Regions from separate parts of the Homo sapiens genome. Here region 2 is linked to region 1. Evidence: promoter capture Hi-C in human tissues and cell types (Jung and others, 2019). All regions are on one chromosome and are shown on one strand. Each heading gives the region's core, a stretch centred on a gene start or on the middle of the fragment in contact. The rest is flanking DNA. Distances are from core to core; before and after follow the strand shown. Region 1 holds the start of NRXN2 (neurexin 2). Region 2 overlaps POLA2 (DNA polymerase alpha 2, accessory subunit).

Region 1 (6,856 bases), core at 833-3,332:
TGAAGTGGCAGGTCCCAAATGCTTAGGCAATCTGAACCTTGGACCTTGCAGAGAGGAGAGATGTCCCTGTAGGTGGGAGGGACAGGGAGATGCAGCAGCTGCCCGGTGACCTTTTCTGCCCTTGATGGGCAAAGCTGGGGGTAGGGAAAGGAGACAAGTGCTCATACTTACCTCCCTCCCTGCCCAGGCTCCTCTGTAAGGGTCTGAGTCTGTCTCTGTGAGCCATTGCATCTGTCTGTCTATGCCCTGATGCCTGGATGGACAAGGGGTGTGTGTGTGTGTGTGTGTGTGTGTGAGTGTGAGGAGGCTGCAGGAAGAGGAACAGTGGGGGATGGGCAGGAAAGTGGGCTGTGGGGTCAGGGAGGCGATTTCGCATTCATAGGCCCTGACGCAGCAGTTCCATTCTCTGGCTCCTTCATTGGCTTTGGTGGGGATGCCCTGGGGGTCTCTCCAAGGTCAGAGTGGGCCCTAAGTCTGGGACCTGGCTTAGGGATCACCCTTCTCGACTCCTAGGAAAAACTCCTTGCAGCCTGGGTCCCCCTCTTACCCCTTCACAGGCTGGGGAAGGAGTTTCCCACCCGGGGGGTTGGTGTCCGCATTAAGCCACTCAGTAATTGACCACTCTCTTTGAAGTGCCTGGGCAGGGGTCCAGGATGACTGTGGGCAGGTCCCCTGGGTGCAGCTGTTCTGGGCATGCATTAATTGCCTGGTGTAGGTACCTGTGTGCACAAGTGTGTGTGTTCTTGGGCAGTATATGCTTCCTGTGGGTGTGTTACCATGGTGGGGCATTTCTGCAGGTGTTCTTATGTGTCTCTGGGAATGCCCAGTGTTCACAGATATGTGTGCATGGCTGTGAGTGCCCCAATGTCCATGCATTGGTGGTTGAATGTAAGTGTTCTTGCATGTTGCCTCTGGCTAAGGAAGTGCCAACTACCACCAGCTGTGCAGATCACAGACCCTGCAACAGAAACCAGGGTCCTGGAGTGAGCTGGCAGAATGGTCTGGCACACATACACACACACACTCTGTCTCTCACTGTCTCATTCAGCAGCCCAGTGACCAACCTCGGGGTATACACACTAAGTGCCAGTGTGTGTACACTTTTATTGGCGGAGTGAGTGAAGGGTGTCCCCCAGTCCCCCACACTCATACACATGCACAGTGATGCATGTACCCTTACAGGAGAGACCTGCGCCCCCCAGCACCACTCTAACTGAAACTCATGGATGGGAGGAGGAGAACAGAGAAGGGGGCTGCTGCCAGGTGCCCTCAGTCACCAGGCATGTGCAGGCGCAACCCTGCCCCCACACCTACTCGTACCTCGGTCCAGGGTTCCAGGCAGAACTGAGAGTTTGGCCTCAAACTCTGGGATTCCCATGAGGCAGGACTGGGAAACCCCCAAGTTCCTAGGTCTACCCCGCCCCCATCTCTGCCTTTCCTTCCCCCACCGCCTCCGTCTTTATCCCAGCAAAGCCCCTTCCTCTTCAGTTCTGGGGGCTCCAAGCCAGGGGCCCTCCGGACGGTGGGAGGTGGGGGCCAGGCTACCGACTGGAAAAAGCCCCCAGCAGCCATGGACCCACCGAGTCCCCCTTCTCTAGGCTCCTCGAAGCCCGGGCCCGCCCCTGGGGGTAGCCAGCAGAGGGCGCTGCGGCCCAGGCCCCGCATCAGCCCTGCTCTCGCGGCGTCCCAAGTCGGGGTCCACAGCCTCTCCTTCGGCTTGTCCCAGCCCCGCGCTGCGCGAAGACCTGCTGGCCGTGGGGGGAGGGTGCGGGACCCAAGGCCCCGAACTAAGGGGCGAGGGGCGAGGGGCGAGAGTGCTTGGGTTCCCGGAAAAGACACTGAGGCCGGGTTTGGGGCCCGCCTGGTTGGGGGCCCGGGCGCCCGAGAACCTCGAGAGGCTGGGAGGAGCGCGGGTGCTGGGGCCGGGACGCCTGGGTCCCGCGCGAGGGAGGGAGTGGGCCTGTGGAGCCGCTGGACTGGCGGCTTCTGAGCCCTTGCATTGGCTGCGCTGCTCGCCCGTCAGCGCAGCGTGGTCCAATGCGCGCGTCTCGGGGGCGGGCACTGGTGCTGATGCTGCCGTCAGTCGGTGTTGCAGGGATGCGGCGGCGGGAGCAGCCGCCCTGACTCGCGGAGCATCCTCCTCGGAGAGGCACCGCGGCGGGGCGGGCGGGCGGGCGGGGACGCGGCGGGGAGGGAGAGAGGCGCGAGGCGGCAGACACCGCTAGCCCTGGCTCTGCCACCCGTCGGAGACGGGGCGGCCCTGTAGCTCTGCTACCCACCCTCCAGCTTCTGGCGCCCCGAGAACCAGGTAAAATGGGGGGGGGGGGGCGCTGCGGCGGAGACGGGCGGGGGGCGGGAGCCGATCGGGGGAGGGGAGCGGATCGGAGGGGGCGAGGGAGGCAGGACGGATGAATTGGGGGGCGGGGGCGCCGCGCTGAGAGGGCTGGCCCGGTGACAGCGAGGAGGCAAAGCCGCTGGGGGCTTGGGGGTCGGAGGCTCCTGTGGAAGGGGCACTGGCCCTGAGAGCTGAGGAGAATGGGGAGGGGTGGGAGGAAGGGTCTTTGGGGGAAGGGATGGAGAGAGGAGGGGCATCCAGAGGACTTAGAGGGGGTTCTTAAAGGGGGGTCCCCAGTCTGTGCTAGCCCCAGAGGCTTGAAGCAGCGCCGGGCCAGAGGAGCTGTTGTGTTCTGGAGGGTCTAACCAGCGAGAAACTGGGCTTCGTGGGAGGAGAGGAGAGGGGGCTGGAGAAGAGAGAGAAGTGGAGAGGGAAGGAAAGGGGCCAGGCCAAGGGCTTCGTCCTGAGGGGACCCACTGAGGACCAGGCTTTCCTGGGGGATGGGAGCCAAGGGGAGAAGAGGTTATTGGGAGAGAGCAGAGGGGAATGTGCCAAGGTGCTCCAGGCAGAGATGGGTCTGTGCTGGTGGAGAGCTGGGAAAGATGGGGTCTGAGGGAGAGGAGCGGAAGCTTGCGGGGGAAGGCTGGGGGTGATGAGACAGGGAGACTGGGAAATCAGTAGGAGGGGGCTTTGCTGGGGTGGGAATGCGCTGGGGGCGGTGACAGGGTTCTGGTCAGAGAGTGCTGCAGGGGGAGAGGAAGCTGCAGGGCCCTTGGCTTGCTCCCCCACCCCTAAAGAGGAAGGGACCATTTCTCATGTCCCAGCCTCCTCCCCCAGCTGAAGCAGCAATCTTCCCTGGGGTCTTTGGGTTGGGGTATGAGCCCTTGAACCCTTGATGGGCTTTTGGGGCACAATTGGCTTTGGGGTGCTGTTGTCTCCTTTACTCTCACCCCCCTCCTGAATCTTGGGAGAGGGCATTCGATGCCTCATTGAGCTAGCAAGGGCTGGGAGGGGCTTTTTCTTGGTGTCTGGAGGTGAAGGAGGAGGCTGTCCACCTGGAATAATGAAATAGATTTTTAGGGGGTGGGTCTTGGGTCCCCAGTCCCTTGGCTGCCCTGGGGGCTTCCAGATAGCCCTGTTTTTTCATGTGTTGGCGGGTGGGCGTCTCTCCTCTTCCATTCATTCTTATCCTTCCCTGTTGTCTACCTTCCCAGTGTCTGGGTGTTCCTTTTGGAGGAGGGTGGACATTAGGGTCTTACTTTCTCTGTCTTCTGCCAGAGAAGGAGAAAGAAAGAAGGGAGAGGGAAGGAGAAGGGGAGGGAGGTCTGCAGTCTGCTAACTGTGAGGCCTTCTGTTTTGTGGGTGCTTCAGCCCCTCAGTCCCTACCTCCTCTTGCTTCCAGGGATGGCTCTAGGGATGCTGGCATCTGAGGTGTGGCTGGATCTTTTGGGAGACAGGGGAGAAGGGTCTGGCTGGGGGCTCTTCATTCATGCTAGAGGAAGTGTTCTCAGACCCATCCTATCCTCAGATCCACAGGGGTGGGCGGGATGGACCAACCAGCCACGGCTGCCGGGCAGTTCTTTCCAGCCCAGGCCTGGGCTGAATCCATATGACATTGGAGTTCTGAGAGGAGGGGCTGGGTGCGCGAGTGGCTGGTGGGGACCCCTCTTTCCTTCCAGGCTCAGTCACTACCCAGGTCCAGCTGCTCCCTCCCGCTTACCCTTGCCAGTGACACAGACACTCTGACAATGATACACGCGCTCGGTGGCACCCACCCAGACACACACCTACACAGGCACACACACCTGCGTACACAATACACCTCCTGGCAGCATACAGCCCACACTCCCCACCCAGAGAGGCTGCCACCTCATGCCTGCCTCCTTGAGACCTCCCCCAGGTGCCTTGCTGCCATGTACACAACACACACACGGCCACTACGTGCCCCCAGAGCCCCCAGCGCAGCACTGCCAGCCCTCACCCTTGGATGCACACAGCCCCCATCCAACCACTCACCTCCCCAGGCTCACAGCCATCGCAGGCACACCTGTGCTTCTTCCTCATACACCTTCAGTCCTTGCAACACACCCTCTCCTTCCAGACACCCCATCCCTCCCAGGTCTACACAGCATGTGGGCACACCCTCCCAGACACACCAGTCCCTGCCCCCCAGCAAGCTCATCCTGAAGTACCATGTGCATGTCTGTCTGGGTGCTGAACACCTTGCCCCAGGCCTTTGTGTGTGTGCACGTGTGTGTGCACACCAGCACATGTTTGCTAACACACTTAATGCTGTGGCTCACCCCCTAAACCTCTCTTCTACTTTCTCTCTCTCTCACTCACTTATCTTTGTACCTTCGGCGCAGGGCCTCCTACCCCTCCTGGCCACAACCACGACCCTTCCCAGTGGAGTCCAGCCCCCACCTACACCTGGTTTCCCTGGGAGCCTTCCCATTTCTAAGTGGCCCCACCCCCCGCATTAATCCTCAGGCACAAGGGCCCCTACACCTGCCTGTGCACTGGAGACACTGTCCTTTCATTCGCAGCTCCCAAGCCCAGCCCCCACGGGGATGCCCCGATTGTGTGTCCTCACACGCCACCCACCTTGCTGCTCCATCTGTTGGTGCAGCTCCCTCGCCCCTGCCCCTTCCACACTGATGGGCCTGTGGGCTCTCGGAGACTCATTCAACAAATAGTCTGGTGCACACTTTCAAGGATGTGTGTGGCACCTTGTTATTTACGAAGCTGCTTCCCCACTGCCACCACCACTGTTTGGCATGGTGGGGTGAGGGTGAAGGTGGGACTCCGCTGTGCTCCTCAGTGAGCCTCAGTTTCCTCACGTGTGAAATGGGATCCTCATCCCTACCTAGTGGGATGTTATGAGGACTCACTGAGAGGACAATGATGGCAATGATAGTAGTAACAAGCATGTTTATTGTGTACCTACTGTGTGCCTGGCCTTGTGCGAAGCACTCTGTAAACCTTACTTTGAGGTATTTGTAAGACACATAGAAGGTCCCCGTAAATGGTAGCTATTTTTATTGTCATTATCATAACCTTCCCTGCACGCACACACACGCGCACACACCTGTCATAGATACCTTTAGGAACATTCCCAGGCACCTCATGCTTACTCACAAGGCCGCCCCTGGAAGCCATCTGTCCCCCTCTGCATCACTGGGGTGCACCCGCCCAGGCTGCTGTGCCCCAGCTGTGCACAGCATAGGTAAGCTTGGTGCTCATCCCTCCCACCACCTACCTCCATGCTCCCATGCACCTGTCCTCCGGCCCCCACTCCACCAAGTCATTCCATTGCACCTCTGTCCCCAGCCCACCCGCTTCCCCAGCTCCATGAGGCGGCAGCAGCCTCATCCTGTGCACCCCGAGCTACCAGCTCCTGGGCCCAGCCCGCTCCATGCTTCTCTCCATGACACAGAGAGCTGCTTGGCGACCTGCAGACATGGCCGCTCATGCCCAGCCCACCCTGGCATGGGACTCCGACTTATCTTTAGACCTGTTTGTTCCTTCTACTGCCCTCTGAGTCAGGACAATTGACCAGCAGAGTTGAGGAGGACACGAGGGATAGGGATTAGACAGAACCAAATCTGAATCCCAGCTCTGCCATTTATGATTTGTGGGACCTTGGGTGGGTCCCTTCTCCCCTTTGAGTATCTATTTCCTCATCTGTAAAAGGGGCAGTGATAATACTTGTCTTGCTTACTTTTCTCACCAAGCCCTGGTGAGGATCAGAGGAAACACTAGGCACTCGGTACTGCAAACTGTAAAAGGCCGAGATGAGAAGTTTTAAAAAAATCATTAATACGACACACTTTTTTTTCACACGTTAGTCTATGCCAGGCAGTGTACTAGGAGCTTTATGTATGTTAATTCTAATTTTGACAACACTATTATTATCTCTATTTTATACATAAAGAAAGTGAAGCACAGAGAGGCTGAGTAACTTACCAAAGGTCACACAGCTGGATAGGGGTAGAGCTGGCATTTGAACCCAGGCTTCAGAGCCAGTGCCTCTAACCACTGTGCTGTCTTGTTTTTGCTGCTGCTGAGGTTGTGGCTGGGTGTGGAAAGGCATGGGGTCTTCCCTTTTTTCTGCCAGATCATCACGGCTGGAAGGAAGGGGGAGGTAGGAACTGTTCACCGTCTGCCAATCTTGCCTGGAATTTCACGGGGGAAAGGGGACCCTCCAAAAAACATTCTGCACCTGAAAAGGACCTCAGGGGTCAAGCAGTCTGCTGTCCTCTTCCATATGATTCAAGAGCCTCCCCCACACCGAGCCTCTCTGAGCAGCAGTCATCCGGTCTCACCTCGAACACCCCCACAGACGGGGAACTCACCACCCCCCGAGGCAGCCTACTCCACTGTTGGATGCTTTAGATTGCCAGCCAGCAAGTTTCTCTTTAGCCTGAGCCAGAATCTCCCCCCATAGCACGCACTTCTCCCACCTGTCCACGGGCTGCCTTCTGGGGCCACCAGAATGTGTGTAAACCCAGCTCTTCCTCC
Region 2 (7,394 bases), core at 1-2,500, 560 kb before region 1:
CGCATCTGCCCATGCTGCATGTAAATAAATTCTTTTTGAAATCGTACATCTTTTCCTTTCCAAGGCAACCTTCAAAAATACCTGTTAAACATTAGTCTTTAAACAACATGCTTCATGTAGGCAGAACTCAGGCGACAGCACGACCAACGCTCACTGGGCTCAGACCAGGGGTCTTGTGACAAAAAACCTACGAACTCATGATGGTGGCGCCCTCACTGCTTGGTCACATTGCTCTTCAGCAGCTTCTGCAGCTTTCTTGGGCTTGGGAAACTGCACTCCTGGACTCATGTCTACCATCCTCATTGTTGGCAAAACAATATTTGAACCGAAACTCACCTGCATCCTCTTCAGTGGGCTGATAAAATGGAAGTGGCACACCCTAAAAACAGGGGAAAAGCTCAAGTAAGGTCTTGCGCCAGGCATCACCTTGGTAAGGAAAGGGGAGGGCACCAGGTTGGGGGTGGTGCAGGTGTGTGATGGGAGGACAGTGGGGAGGAGCGAGAGGGCAGGGGAAGGATGTGCCTCTGTCTTGCTCCCTGGATCTGATGGGACCTGCCATTTTTCTATACTGCTCAGAGGGCAAAGAAACCCAGGTAATGGGAGGTCACTACTCAATTGTCATAAAATACCCAGCAACAAGTGGGAGCAAAACAGGTGCCTAAAGTATCAGTGTACTTCTAGGCAAGGATGGGAGAGAATGGTTTCTTGCTACTTTTCCTGGCATTCTACGAAAATCTCTGGAGGATTGTTGCCTAGAGCAGGGATAGGTAACCTTTCGGCCTCTGGGCCAAATTTGGCTGCAGCCCACTATTTAAATAAAGTTTTATGGGAACACAGCCACAGTCATCTGTTTAAGAGTCCTCTATGGCTGCTTTTGTAGACAAAGGCAGAATTGAGTCATTGTGACAGAGACCATATAGCTACAAAGTCTAAAAGAGTTACTGTCTGGCCCTTTATAGAAAGGGTTTGCTGACCCCTGGCCTAGGGGTGGGTTCCCACTTACAGATGGAGAACTGACTAACAAATAAATGGGCTCCTAAAAAGGACCAGTTTCTAGAACAGACAGCTTCCAGACATACTTTGTCTGAAGCAAACCAAGAGGCAAGTGGGGGTACTGCTGTGTACCTCGTAGAGTTTGGTGGCAACAAGTTTCCTACCAGTGGTGTTGATTCCTTCCATAATTACAACCTGAAAGACAAAAACAAACAGGATTGCTAAGCAGTGGAGATCAATGAGGTCTGGAATACATTATTTTGAGGCAGTTAAAAGCATTGTCCAACTACTCTCATTCTGTAATCATAAACTTAGGGCATTTTTGTAGAAAACGAATTAAGGGCGTTGCATTAGTAATAATAATTATGCTCTATATAAGTGATCTAATTTTCACAACAATCCTATGAGGTAAGAATTATTATTTCCATTTTGTGAGTGAAGAAACTGTAGTTTAGATGGTTAAGTACCTTGTGCACAGTCATGCACCTCATGGAGCGGGGAGTTGGGATTTGAGGCTGCGCAGTCAGGTCCCAGAGCCTGGGTCAGAGCATGGGGGAAACAGGAATCCCAACAGTGGTGTCTGCTCTGGGGCATGTGCTCCAGCTGCACCCCATGGCAGCAGAGACAGGAACTGAGGAGCAGCTGCGCATGGCACAGCACCTACACTACAGGGGTAAAGAGTGCGCCTGCATTCTGGTGGAACTCCTCCAATCTCACCTGTCCAGGAAACAGAGAATATTCCTTAAGCTCAGATAAATCCACTGGAATTTGAGCACCCGAGGAATGTTCCCGGTCTCCCTCGAGAATCACTGACTTGTTGTTCAGCTTCCCGTTGCTATCACAGCCAATCTGGCCCAGCAGAGTGACAGGCTCCTACCAAAGGAAGGTCACAGCATAAGAATGACAGTCTTTGGAGCAGGAGCTCAAAATCTGAAGTCGATAGGGTGAATAGCAAAACAAACTGCAAACAACAAATACATTTCTTGGCAGGGCATTGCTTTGACCCTGAGGTGACTACCGCGTCATCACTGACTCTCAGGATGGAAGAACTCTGAAAGGGCATCTTGTCCACCCATCCACCCAGCACTTGAGCCTTCCTAGGAGGCTGCCTAAGTGTGAGCATCTCTAGTGTAGGGGAACTTGCCCCTGGATGCCTACCCCACCCTGTCCTCACCACCCCAGGGCAGCCCACTGCATCTTTGGGCAGCTATAACTACTTAATAATAGCTAACATTTCTTGAGCTTACTAAATACCATGCACTGTTCTAAAATGTATTCTTAGGCATTTTATATGTATTAACTCATTTAATCCTTGCAACAACCATCGGGTGGATATTACTGTATCCATTTTACAGATGAGGAAAACAAGCAACAGAAAGGTTAGATAATTTAGTCAAGGTCAAACTGTGGGTGAAGCTTGGGTTTGAAACCAGAAATTTGGCTCTAGAGCCATATCCTTAGCCACATACCATACAACCTCTTAACAGGAAGTTCTTTATTAATTGAGCTAAAATCTCTGTCTCCATGGCTTCCTCTGTTCTGTTCCCACTCTTGGGAGAAAACAGAGGAAGTCTCATCTTTCCCAGTGATTGTGCCTCCCTGCCTTCCCTCAATTACTTCCTTCCAAGTCCTCTAACACTTCCTTCTATGACACAGTTCTGCATCACTTCCCCAACTGATCATTCTTTGAATGTAAACATTGACAAAGGTACTTTAAAGAAACTTCTAGAATATATTTCCCCTTAGATTAGAAAACATTCTAGAGAGAAAGCACTGGTATATATGCCAGATTAAACTATGATATAAAGATACTATTGGCAGCAGTTTGTCTATAACAAGAGACCAAACCAGGGGAGAGACTGTGAGTCATTGTCCAGAGAACAAGATTCTGAAAACCCCACCGTCGCTGCTGTCCTTTTATCTCGATACGTGAATGCTTCTATTTGTGGGAAATCCCCGGGGAGCTACCTGACTCACCACCAAGGGAAACAAGGCCTTGAGTCTCTGCTTATGTGCAAGACTCTAATCCAAGTGGGAAGAAAATCACTCTCTGGCCACAAAACCAGACAGCACTTACAAATCTTTCTTCAGAAGGGCCCATTTTCCCAAATTCAACCAAGACAGATGTTCAAACTAGAACACAGACAAGAAGTGAAAAAGGAAGCAAGAAGGATGCCTCTTGGTCATCGATTTAAAAACGTAATATTAATTAGTGAGAACTATTAGAACAACTCTTACCTGTGCTGGGGCTAGCAAAGGAGTGAAAGCTTCAATCTTGTAATGTTCCTTGAGTTCGCTGCCAAGTTCTTCTATCTTACAGGTCAGAACTACAATCCCAGAAGTGGAAAAAAGTATTATGTTTAAGACATTTCACTTGCCAAGAAGAGAAAATACAGCACATTGTAAAATATTAAAGTCAGTCATTTTACAGAAGCAGGAAGGGTGCCTGGACATCTGGCCAGTTTAAACCTTCTAAAACCTTTGCCAATTTTCCGATATTTGGTTGCTGAATCTGGCCTTCCATCTGGCCACAGGAGACCCCATAGCACAATTCCAGGGAATCAGCATGAACCCCACCCCATCTCCAAGTCTGCCCTTTACTCAAGTCCTCACTGAGGTTTTAGGCAAGTCAAGGCCAACCTGAAGAAGGCTTCTAACGAAGGAACCATGAATATCTTTAAGTTGAATTCCTTTACATCGTTCAAGTTTTTGCTGCTGGGAATGGTTATGTGCGTTTTAGCAAAGTGAAGTGACTTGGGGCAATCACTGATAGTATTGCCCGTGTCCCTCCATTACTAGGGCTTCCATGAGGACATCTACCAACTCATACATTGAAAGGCAACCTTGGAACTTGTTCTACCAGCCTAGCTGAAGCTTTGTTACTCTACACCCTTCTAGGTGGTTTTATATCCACCAGAATTTCAAAGGGAAAAACAATCACCTTCTCGAATGTCTGGGAGCTTCTGAAACATGGATTTGTAGCTCCCAGTTAGTGCCTCTGGACATCCCAAGACCTTCAGGCTGATGTTTCCAGCTCCTCCTCTCCCAGACCAAGATACTCCCTGTGCTAAGCCGAAGGAGGTAACCACTTCTCCTCGGTTACTTCGTGAGTTGTATTTCTGGGAGGGAGTAGCACTAATTGGAAGCAAAACAGGTTAATATTACTGTGTTCATATCTAAAGGGAGAGAAGAATAAAATGAGGTTACCTTTGGAAATGGGGACTGGAGAAAAGGAAGGTGGCCTCATAGTTTATAAATTGAATCAGTTTAATGGGGTTGGACATACCCAGACCTTTAAGGAATTTCAGGAATGAAGGGCTGAGGAATACCAGGCTGAGGAATACCAAACATTTTTAGAGAAGTTTAGAGACAGAAACGTATTTTAAAAAGTTGTCGTTCTCTTGGCATTAAAACTAAGCAAGGCAAAAAGATCCCCAGATTCTGAATTGATTAAAAGGCAAACTTTAAGTCCCATTTTTTTCTTCTCATGAATTTTTAGCATTTATTGGAACATCATCTGAGCCTGCAACTGTGGATAAGCTAAAACTTGCTGAGCATATATAAAAACTCACAATATGGTTCAAGGTAGAAACAACAATAAAATGAAATTCAAATTAATCAATTTTCCCCAGTGTCTATGGAGGTGGGTAAGTAATGAATTAACAGTCTGGTGATGTGCAAACATTCCCATTTTTCTAGGCTCAACTGCCAAGTTCTCACATTTCCACTCCCTGACTGGTAAATTATACCTCTAAGAACACATGGATATTGCTGATCTGCTTAGATGACAGTGAGGTCTTCTAATCCTCTGGTTGTAAACACGCCGTACAGAGAGGTCTATTTAAAACAGGCTTTGTTTAATGCACTGAAACTCTGCGGGAACCAGTTTTATGTGGGGCACCATCGCAATTAATGCCATCATTCTTTCTTTTCACAGCCTACAGAAAATGAGCTCAATTAATTATCTCAATCTCCAGTGCCACCTCTACGTGAATAGTTTAGAAGTTACTTTCATACATTACAAAACCAGTTTCTGCTGTCAGCTTTATTAGTGTGCATTAAAAAATGACTAGGCAGCATTTTGCCAGCTTCTCCAAGCTCTTCCCTGGGAAGCTCCATGAGCCATCCATTACAGCAGGCCCTTTAATGCAGCAAGATGCTCACATGAGGACAGTTGTAAACAGATCTACAGGTTTCAGAGCATTGTATTGACATTTGGAGAATATAACTCCTGCAATGGTGCTGGCACGTCTATAAGAACCATCCCTACATACCAGGTTGCAAAGATGCTCTTAAGTCTAGAAAGCTTTCTTCCAAAAAGCCTGAGAACTCCCCAAAGCAGCAGTAGACTACCCTAAAGTAAAACTGTCCTTCAAAATCCAATTACTGCCAGGCATGCTGGCTCATGCCTGTAATCCCAGTACTTTGGGAGGCTAAGGCAGGCAGATTGCTTGAGGCCAGGAGTTCGAGACCAGCTTGAGCAACATGGTAAAACCCCATCTCTACAAAAATTATAAAAATTAGCTGGGCTTGGTAGCATACACCTGTAGTCCCAGCTACTCAGGAGGCTGAGGTAGGAGGATCACCTGAGCCTGGAAGGCCAAGGCTACAGTGAGCTATAGTTGTGCCACTGCACTCCAGCCTGGGCAACAGAGTAAAAGCCTATCTTAAAAAAAAAAAAAAAAGAAAGAAAAGAAAAAAAAAATCCAATGACCACTCACCTTGAATGACTGCAGAGCTTCTATCACCACCTTTCTAAAGTGATAGAGCTGAAAAGGCCGAGAGCAGTGGCACATGCTTGACATCCTACACTTTGGGAGGCCAAGGCGGGTGGATCACCTGAGGTCAGGAGTGCAAGATCAGCCTGGCCAACAGGCGAAACCTCGTCTCTACTAAAAATACAAAAATTAGCCAGGCATGGTGGCGAGCGCCTGTAGACCCAGCTACTCGGGAAGCTGAGGCAGGAGAATCGCTTGAACCGGGAGGCAGAGGCTTCAGTAAGCCAAGATGGTGCCACTGCACTCCAGCCTGGGTGACAGAGTGAGAGTCCATCTCAAAAAAAAAAAAAAAAAAAGTGATAGAGTTGAACAATCTTAAGCTCTGGTTCATCTAGAAGTGATCCAAAGTAGAGGTAATGACTCCTGGCAGTTGGTGTTTCCCTGAAGGGTTAATACTACTGCTCCGGAGCCTCATCTTGATGTGGAAACTCCTAAAAACCCATCTACTCAGCAGAGCACTTGCCTATGGAATTCTCTAATATGAGACGTGTCATTTATGGATTTCAAAAAATTACATATGATCTTTGTGGATTTATGTGCAATGGTGGCAGAGGGACAAAATACCAATTAAGTCAGGGCAGAGTCACAGTGACAAGAAAACTCTCAGAAACTAGTTCTAACCTGACTTGGAAACAATAAACAGGTTATGAAACATTATGAACAAAGATATGTGCTTTTCTTTAAAAAAAAAAACTTTAGATGAAAAGAAAGAAAAAGAAACCCAACAAAACACAAACAGAAGCAGGTGGAAACCTACTTGCCTCTACTGACAAGACCTGTTAAGACTCTTAGACTTCTGAATAGACAGGTTGTTTTCAATACAAGATATCAGTTCCCGATCTAGGAAATGAGCCCTAGAAAAGTGGGTGGAAAGTGAGTTTCCTTAATTACCGTAAGAAACAGTAATTTTCCACAAAGAAAAGGAGAGCAAGGAAGGCAGAGAGCAATAGGCTTTCAAGCCAATTCACTGCAGAGGTACATGCCCACCTATAGTTAATTAATAACTCTGCTGTTAGCCTTCCTCAGATAGCCAGAGAAAGGGGAGGGGAGGCCAGCTTTATGGCACTTGAATGAATTATGATCCATACCTTGGAGAGAAACTTGACGGTGAGAGTAGCTGATGGGGGCTACGAGTTGACACACTCCTTTTTGTTAGGGGGGTTTCTGGGGTAGAGATAGCTCGCTTCTGAGAACCCTAGGGAAAAAAAAGGAAAACAAAATCTCAGTCCTACTAGACCCAATACTAATTAAGTGTATAGTACCTTGGAAGAAAAGGGAGAACATGTCCAAACGAAGGCACAAAATAGGACTGGGTGGGTTCTCTTCTTAAGGCCCCATCATCCAAGCATAATCTCAAAAAGAAATCTTCAACAACTGTAACCAACATTCAGGACACTGTCCCTATTTTGAAGGCAATTACGAGAAAGCAAACATTTTCCAAAAAGGACCACCAGGCTGGTAATGTGTCCTGTCAAATCCTTCATATGTTTACTTTCTGTCCCTACCTCTATGTTTTCAAACAGATATGAGTTTTACAATGCATAGTTTTGATCTATGTGTACACATTTTCCTGAGAAGGAATGGGACATTACTACTTACTTTGGCAAAGTCTACCATACATTT

What was found. The method cuts DNA at HindIII sites, captures the fragments that hold promoters and counts their contacts. A contact is called where the count stands out against the background at its distance.
Region 2: a contact is called between a fragment that was not itself captured here and the fragment with the promoter of NRXN2 in region 1, in 4 of the 25 tissues and cell types used here (dorsolateral prefrontal cortex, lymphoblastoid cells, pancreas and 1 more).

The regions. Positions count from the first base shown.
Region 1 is chr11:64,718,423-64,725,278 of GRCh38, reverse strand. NRXN2 (neurexin 2) reads left to right here and starts at 2,082. Exons shown (of 23, transcript NM_015080.4): 1 at 2,082-2,308. RefSeq lists an enhancer at 1,192-1,241 and silencers at 1,622-1,921, 1,908-2,202. The HindIII fragment of the contact is 11,757 bases long and covers 1-4,265 here.
Region 2 is chr11:65,275,464-65,282,857 of GRCh38, reverse strand. POLA2 (DNA polymerase alpha 2, accessory subunit) reads right to left here. Exons shown (of 18, transcript NM_002689.4): 5 at 6,860-6,966; 6 at 3,935-4,128; 7 at 3,232-3,320; 8 at 1,711-1,866; 9 at 1,126-1,188; 10 at 337-379. Among named protein-coding and RNA genes, the nearest start is that of POLA2, 17 kb to the right of the region's middle. RefSeq lists an enhancer at 2,389-3,588. The HindIII fragment of the contact is 6,666 bases long and covers 1-4,583 here.